2 separate regions of the Homo sapiens genome follow, and region 1 is linked to region 2. The links are contacts of gene promoters, found by promoter capture Hi-C in human tissues and cell types (Jung and others, 2019). All regions are on one chromosome and are shown on one strand. Each heading gives the region's core, a stretch centred on a gene start or on the middle of the fragment in contact. The rest is flanking DNA. Distances are from core to core; before and after follow the strand shown. Region 1 overlaps PHTF2 (putative homeodomain transcription factor 2). Region 2 holds the start of FGL2 (fibrinogen like 2).

Region 1 (3,639 bases), core at 486-2,985, 630 kb after region 2:
TATGGTGAGTTGTATAATTATTTCATTATATATTATAATGTAATAATAATAGAAATAAAGTATACAATAAATGTAATGCTCTCGAATCATCCCAAAACCATCCCCCCTACCCTGGCCATGGAAAAATTGTCTTCCACAAAACCAGTCCCTGGTGCTAAAAAAGGTTGGGGACTGCTGCAAGTAAGAGATAGATAATAACTAATAATAAAATAGGACAATCGTAACAGTATACTCTAATGAAAAGTTATGGAATTTGGTCTCTGTCTCCAAATATTTTACTGTACTGCAGTTACTGCAGTAACTGAAATGTGGAAAGCAAAGCCTTGGATAAAGGGAGTGCTACTCTAAGGGGAACACAGAACAGGATGAGAAATATTAAATGGAAGAATTTGGGAGAAACTTATGGAGAAAGTGGAATTTTGGAAGTCTTGTCAAAATCTTCCTTGTTTTAGAAAGAGAAGTGTTAATTTTGGCACAGAGGTAGAAAAATGTTGAAAGTATGGGATGGTTGAAACAAGACATATGAGAAGATGATGAGCAATAATGTTGGACAATTAAGGTCAGATTGTAGAGAGTCTAAATACTTGTGGATTTTATTTTGTAAGCAGCAGAGAATGATACAAGGTTGTTGGAATGGAATAATAATATGAGAGTCTGAGGAGATTTATAAAAACTACCTTTAAAAAATTAAAAGCTCTTTAGGGCCAAGCGCAGTGGCTCACACCTGTAATCCCAGCACTTGGGGAGGCTGAGGTAAGAAGATTGCTGAAGACAGCAGTTCAAGACCAGCCTGGGCAGCATAATGAGACTCCATCTCTCTCTACAAAAGATTTAAAAAATAGCCTAGTTTGGTGGCATGCAACTTTTTGTGTGATATACTTCTCAGCAGGATGTGCATGAGGATATGTTATGTGCCCTTTTGTTGCTGAGTCTAGCTACTTGGGAAGCTAAGGCAGGACAGTCACCTGAGCCCAGGAGTTTGATGTTACAGTGAGCTATGATCAAGCCACTGCACTTCAGTCTGGGTGACAGTGAGACCCTATCTCTAAAAATAAATTAAATAAGATATTTTTTATTTAGTTTAACAGTTTCTACTATGTTAAATTCCATATATGTAACACTAATTTAAGTAGTAATATTAATGTTTTTGGGTGTGTTAGAATTCAGAGAAACTTCTGTACATTATTGGAATTGGTGACCTGAAAGGAAGAAGCTGGAGCAAAATTAATACAATTAGAGGGTTTATTTGAATCAAGCTTGAGGATTGCAACTGGGAGCACAGATTTGAGTTGCTCTGAATATACCCTCTGATTAGCAGCAGTTAAAAGTGCATTTTTCCAGCCTGGACAACATAGCCAGACCTCGTGTCTGCTAAAATTAAAAAAAATTAGCCAGGCATCATGGTACATGCCTATAGTCACAGCTATTTTGGGGGCTGAGGCAGAAGGATCACTTGAGCTGGGAAGTCGAAGCTGCCGTGAGCCCTGATCGTGCCACTGCACTCCAGCCCGGGCAACTGAGTGAGACCTTGTCTCAAAAAAAAAAAAAAAAAAAAAAATTTTAAACGGAAGGAAGAAGCAGTTCCTGAGTTGTTTACTGAGAATTTATGTTAAAATAACATAAACTGTTGATTGGCTATACATTGTTCTTTGTATCACAAATTCCAGAAACATGAAGATAAATGAGTGAGGCAGCTAGTCAGGAAGAAAATGACTTTAAACAGTTGCCCCCAGGCTTGGGTGTAGGGGCTTGACTCAAGTCCTATACTCACGTGTCTGTGCTTGCCTACCTCACATGGCTCAGACTGCTCGGAGCTCTTTTTCTTTTCACACAATTGTTATTTAACCTTTATTGAGTTGTGGAATATCTGGCTAGATGGCACTTGGGGAAAACTGAGGTCCAGAGAACTCAGTAACTTATTCAAGAGCACACAGCTCTTAGTATCAGAACTTGGATCTAGAACCCAATTATCTTGATGCTTAGTCATTGCTTTTTATCTGCTGTACTTCCTGTACCATATATTACAGTGTACTGAGTACTTAGAGACAAAGAATGTTGCCACATTTTTTCCTTAAGAGTGTTTACATATGACCAAGTGACCTGTGTGGCCACATACTGCTTTACATTTCTATTTAAATTACAGATTTTTGAGCATATGTTGGTGCTAGAAGAGAGACATTAAGCTTCAGCATTTTTTAGTCCAAAGGAAAGCTGGCCGGGTGCGGTGGCTCATGCCTGTAATTCCAGCACTTTTGGAGGCCGAGGCGGGCGGATCACCTGAGGTCAGGAGTTCGAGACCAGCCTGGCCAACAGGGTGAAACCCTGTCTCTACTAAAAATACCAAAAATTAGCCAGGCGTGGTGGTGGGCGCCTGTAGTCCTAGCTACTGAGGAGGCTGAGACAGGAGAATTGCTTGAACCTGGGAGGCGGAGGTTGCAGTGAGCCGAGATCACACCATTGCACTCCAGCCTGGGCAACAAGAGCAAAACTCCGTCTCAAAAAAAAAAAAAACAAGAAAAAAAAAAGAAAGCTTCATCTTGGAGGAAGTAGGATTTGAGCTGATTTAGAAGGATGTATGAGTGGAGAAAAGAATGGAATAGGAATAATAATAACACACGCAAAGTGTCAGGGGTGGAAATACATTGTTTTCTGAGCCTAGTGAGAGTCATGCCAGAACAGACAAATTTGTTTCAGAATAATGAGAGATGTACATGGTAACATTTATGTAGTATTTGATAGAATTTCTGTAACATGGGGATTGGTTAAAAATCTGACAATGTGGGAGACCATATTTGTACAAAGAATACTCATAGGCATTATTATACTGTTGACCCTTGAACAATTGGGGTTAGGGATACTGACCCCTGTGCTGTGGAAAATTTGGCTGTAACTTTTGAATCCCCCAAAATTTAACTACTAATAGCCTACTGTTGACAGGAAGTCTTACTAATAACATAAACAGATAACACATATTTTATATGTTATATGTTTATATACTGTATAATTACAATAAAGTAAGCTAGAGAAAAAGTGTTATTAAATTGTAAAGAAGAGAAAATAGGCCGGGCACAGTGGCTCACACCTGTAATACCAGCACTTTGGGAGGCTGAGACGGGAGGATCACCTGAGGTCCGGAGTTTGAGACCAACCTGACCAACATGGAGAAACCCTGTCTCTACTAAAATTACAAATTAGCCGGGTGTAGTGGCGCATTCCTGTATTCCCAGCTACTCGGGAGGTTGAGGCAGGAGAATCGCTTGAACCCTGGAGGCAGAGGTTGCGGTGAGCTGAGATCACGCCATTGCACTCCAGCCTGGGTAACAAGAGCGAAAACTCCATCTCAAAAAAAAAAAAAAAAAAAGAAGAGGAAGAAGAAGAGAAAATACATTTACTATTCTTTAAGTGGAAGTGGATCATGATAAAGGTCTTCATCCTTGTCATCTTCACACTGAATAGGTTGAAGAAGAGGAGGGGTTGGTTTTCCCTTCCTGGATAGCAGAGGCAGAAGAGGTAAAGGAGGTGAAAGGGGAGGCAGGAGTATCAGGCACACTTGGTATAACTTTTATTGAAAAAATCCACATGTAAGCGGACCAGCGCAGCTTACCCACCATGTTGTTCAACTGTATTTGATTGAGATTC
Region 2 (3,541 bases), core at 181-2,680:
TCAGGTGAAAAGCCAAGGTTTGGAGAGTCAATACCACTGTTAGTTCGTGGGTGGAGTAGGCGATTAAGTCTGTGGAATTTCACATGTATTTATTAAAGTTAATTCAAGTAATTTGGATGGTGAGGATGGGTTCTACTTCTATCTGCTTGAATTCTAACTTCAGGTAAAAGAGAAAGAAATATGAATACCTTCCCTTAGTGGCATGCTAAAACTCTCCCCTTAAAATATTTTTTGTGCCACTAGGTCTCAAAGCAAAAATTTGTGCACACATATGAAACTGCTTTTATTCCATCTGTAAACTCTCCCATTTTCTCCAGATATTTGGGATTAAGAACTAGATTACTTGCTAAAATCTTTCAAAGACCTCTTTAGCCATGAGAAGCGGCAGTCAGTCAATCACAAGAAAAACTGATTTCCAACAAACAAGGCACAATTGTGAACATCGCCTTATCTTTATTGTTTTCAAACACCTCATTGAAGAGACAAGTTAAATGCACTAAAACATCAAGAAATTCTCTCTACTTCTGCTTGCAAGTAGGTCTGGCATTAACAAATAAGATCTTAAAATTGAAAGTGACTTCCAGTGGATACAGAACTAACTATGATTTTTGTAATTAGGTCATATTTATGTGGTCATATTTGAGAAGATATTTATTTTTTCCTGTGCACCTTGATAAATAAAAGACTTAATCTGTCATCTATTTAACTTACTGACTCAGGTTAATGTTTATAGATACTCTCTAGCTGTATAACATTTATGAACATATGATAAGAAAACATTATTATACATACCTGGACGTGACTGTATTTGTTCTTGGCTGGGACACTTTGAACATTTGCCATCCAAACTATTGACAACAAATGTTAGATTTGCCACTTTGCTGTCAACATAATTTTCTATGTTGTTCATATTTACAAGATTCAGCTTCTCCAGGCGACCATGAAGTACATTGATCTCCTCTTTGGCATTCTTTAGCTCAGAGGACAGCTTGTTAACCTCACTCTCTAATTCTCTAACTCTGTTATCACCAACCTCTCCCGGGGCTCCTGTACTGGGTAACAACAGTCCGTTTCTGCCTGGGTCTCCGTTGTCATCAGCCTGCAGCTTGCAGTCTTGGCAAGATTTCTTTAGACTATTTACGATTTCCTTGAGGTTTTGGACTTCTTTGAACACCTCCTCGATCCTGCTGAATTGCTTCGGGAGCTGAATAGTCAAGGGGGGCAGGCTTACCTGGTAGGGGCACTCCCCTGCCTCTTCGCATTTCCCTCTGCTTTCTAGTCTCACTGGGCAGACATCCTTTGCTCTTTCATCTTTAATTTCCTCTGTTTCATTGTTTGCCACAACCAAAAAACCGTAAGTGGCAAGAACAGCTGAGCTCAGCCAGTACCAGTTAGCCAGCTTCATCTTTACAGTGCTGCTCACCCCAGCAGGGAGTGCGCAGGGCTGGAGCTGCTTTAATAGCGGCAGCTGCCTGAGTCAGGCTTTCTGTGTTCCCAGGAAAGGGTGGGAGCGTTTGCATCACAAGTTTTAGAAACGCACAGGAAGAGGAGATAGCCCTCATCAAACGCAGTTTGCCAAAAACTGTAACTTACTCTCAATAGAAATAATATGCATTGAAATTATTATAGTCAAATGTACACAGCCAACAAGATTCACTTTCATAATGTATTTTATGAAGTATAAGAAAAGTCTTGCATTTCTAAAGTAATTTGGTATACTTACGCTTGAAGTAAATAATTATACGTAACTTCACTGGAAAAACAGTTTTTAAAGATAAAAAGTAAGAGCTAGTTATCCAAACTGTCTATAGAACAGAAACGTTACTAAAATGAAAATGGTCCTTTTTCCTTCTTAGAATGGGGCATTGGGGAGCCTGTATTTTCTTCATGTTGGACTTTCAGGTGAAATCTTAAGCACTTTTAGAAGTTTCTAAGTGTAACAAAGTACAGCTTTCTGACTATTGCAGTTGACTTTTGCTTCATCTACTTGAAAAAGAGAAGAAAACTAGTGGAGAAAAAAGTGCTACTTTCTATTCCTTTGTCCGTAGCATAGTGTATATTAATGTCTAAATGTCTAAGACCCATTTAAAAGGACATAATTGTCTTTCATCAAAACCAGTAGCTGCCTCCTTTGCCCTTCGACATTTTGGTAATTGTACTGTCATCTTCCACAGCTGCTCAAATGTGAATCTTTGAGCTATGCCAGTGTCTGTCCTGAACTTCTCTTGCCTACAGCATCTTTGCCCTTTCTTTCTGCAGGTAGCCCTGGCAGGCGGGCCTCTTGCTTTCTGTCTCCACGCTGGTTCTTCTACCTGCTCTCTGGGCCACTTGGTATATCAGCTTGTTCAAAACATGTAGCATTAATGATAATAGTTTTCTAACTTTCTCTTCAGAGGCTGAAGGCAGGAAAGAGGAACAGCTTCAGTTAGAGAAACCACCTCCTTTTAATTTGTTTTGCATATTGACATCTCATAAGATTTCTTGTTTAAAAAGGGTTTTTTTGCTTTAAAAATAATTTCAAAATGACTGACATGGGCAAAAATCTAAATGTTTTATTGTATTACTTAAAACACTCTGTAGCCTATCTCATATTTATGTCTTTAACCTGATTTCCTATGACTTTTCTGTATATCCCCTTAATTTTAGCCAAATCCTATTCACATTCTCAAAATGTTGGCAGACTCTTTACTCTTCCATGACTGTATTTATTCTCGCATACTCAGGAGACCTGGCTTCCAACCCTAGATCTACCTCTGATCATGTAAACAGATCATCAGCTTTAATGAGCCTTTGTTCCTGTAGCTGTAGCGGAGGAATTTAGCTATTTCTTCCCTCATACAGGAATGATAGTCATGCAAACTTGGAGCACTTGGCTGGGCGTGGTGGCTCACGCCTGTAATCCCAACACATTGGGAGGCCGAGGCATGTGGATCACCTGAGATCAGGAGTTTGAGACCAACCTGGCCAACATGGTGAAACCCCATCTCTACTAAAAATACAAAAAAAAAAAAAAAAATTAGCCAGGTATGGTGGCGTGTGCCTGTAATCCCAGCTACTCGGGAGGCTGAGGCAGGAGAATCACTTGAACCCAGGAGGTGGAGGTTGCAGTGAGCCTAGATCGTACCACTGCACTCCAGCCTGGGCAATAAGAGTGAAACTCCATCCCCCAGCCCCACCCCTCACAAAAAAAGAAAAAAAAAACTTAGAGCACTTAAGAAAAAAAAAAATGCAGTGTATAAATGTAACATTCTTCCCAAATAAATTTGTCAAACATGTTCTACACACCTTATGACTTTTTTTCTTCCATCTTCATATAGCTCTTTCAAAAATTGTTTTTCTCTTCATTCCATTCAATATATCCAATTTTAGACAAAAACTTTTTAGCTAAAAATATCTATTTAATCCCCTAACTCCTAACCTCATTTCTTCTCACCTATTTTCAAGCTGTGACACTTCCCTGTTGGGAGGTAAGAAATAAATGAAACAATAGATAATTTTAAAAAGGAGACATGATGACAACATAGATAAAAAAAAAAACCAT

What was found. Contacts are between HindIII fragments. The study calls those that stand out against the background at their distance.
Region 1: a fragment that was not itself captured here is called in contact with the fragment with the promoter of FGL2 in region 2 in 1 of the 25 tissues and cell types used here (IMR-90 fibroblasts).

What each region holds. Positions count from the first base shown.
Region 1 is chr7:77,832,778-77,836,416 of GRCh38, forward strand. All of the region lies in intron 1 of PHTF2 (putative homeodomain transcription factor 2), which reads left to right. Among named protein-coding and RNA genes, the nearest start is that of PHTF2, 36 kb to the left of the region's middle. RefSeq lists an enhancer at 2,140-2,640. The HindIII fragment of the contact is 4,552 bases long and covers 1-3,639 here.
Region 2 is chr7:77,198,389-77,201,929 of GRCh38, forward strand. FGL2 (fibrinogen like 2) reads right to left here and starts at 1,431. Exons shown (of 2, transcript NM_006682.3): 1 at 793-1,431. The coding sequence starts at 1,405. The region is part of intron 2 of CCDC146 (coiled-coil domain containing 146); the gene reads left to right. RefSeq lists a silencer at 1,022-1,131. The HindIII fragment of the contact is 7,307 bases long and covers 1-3,541 here.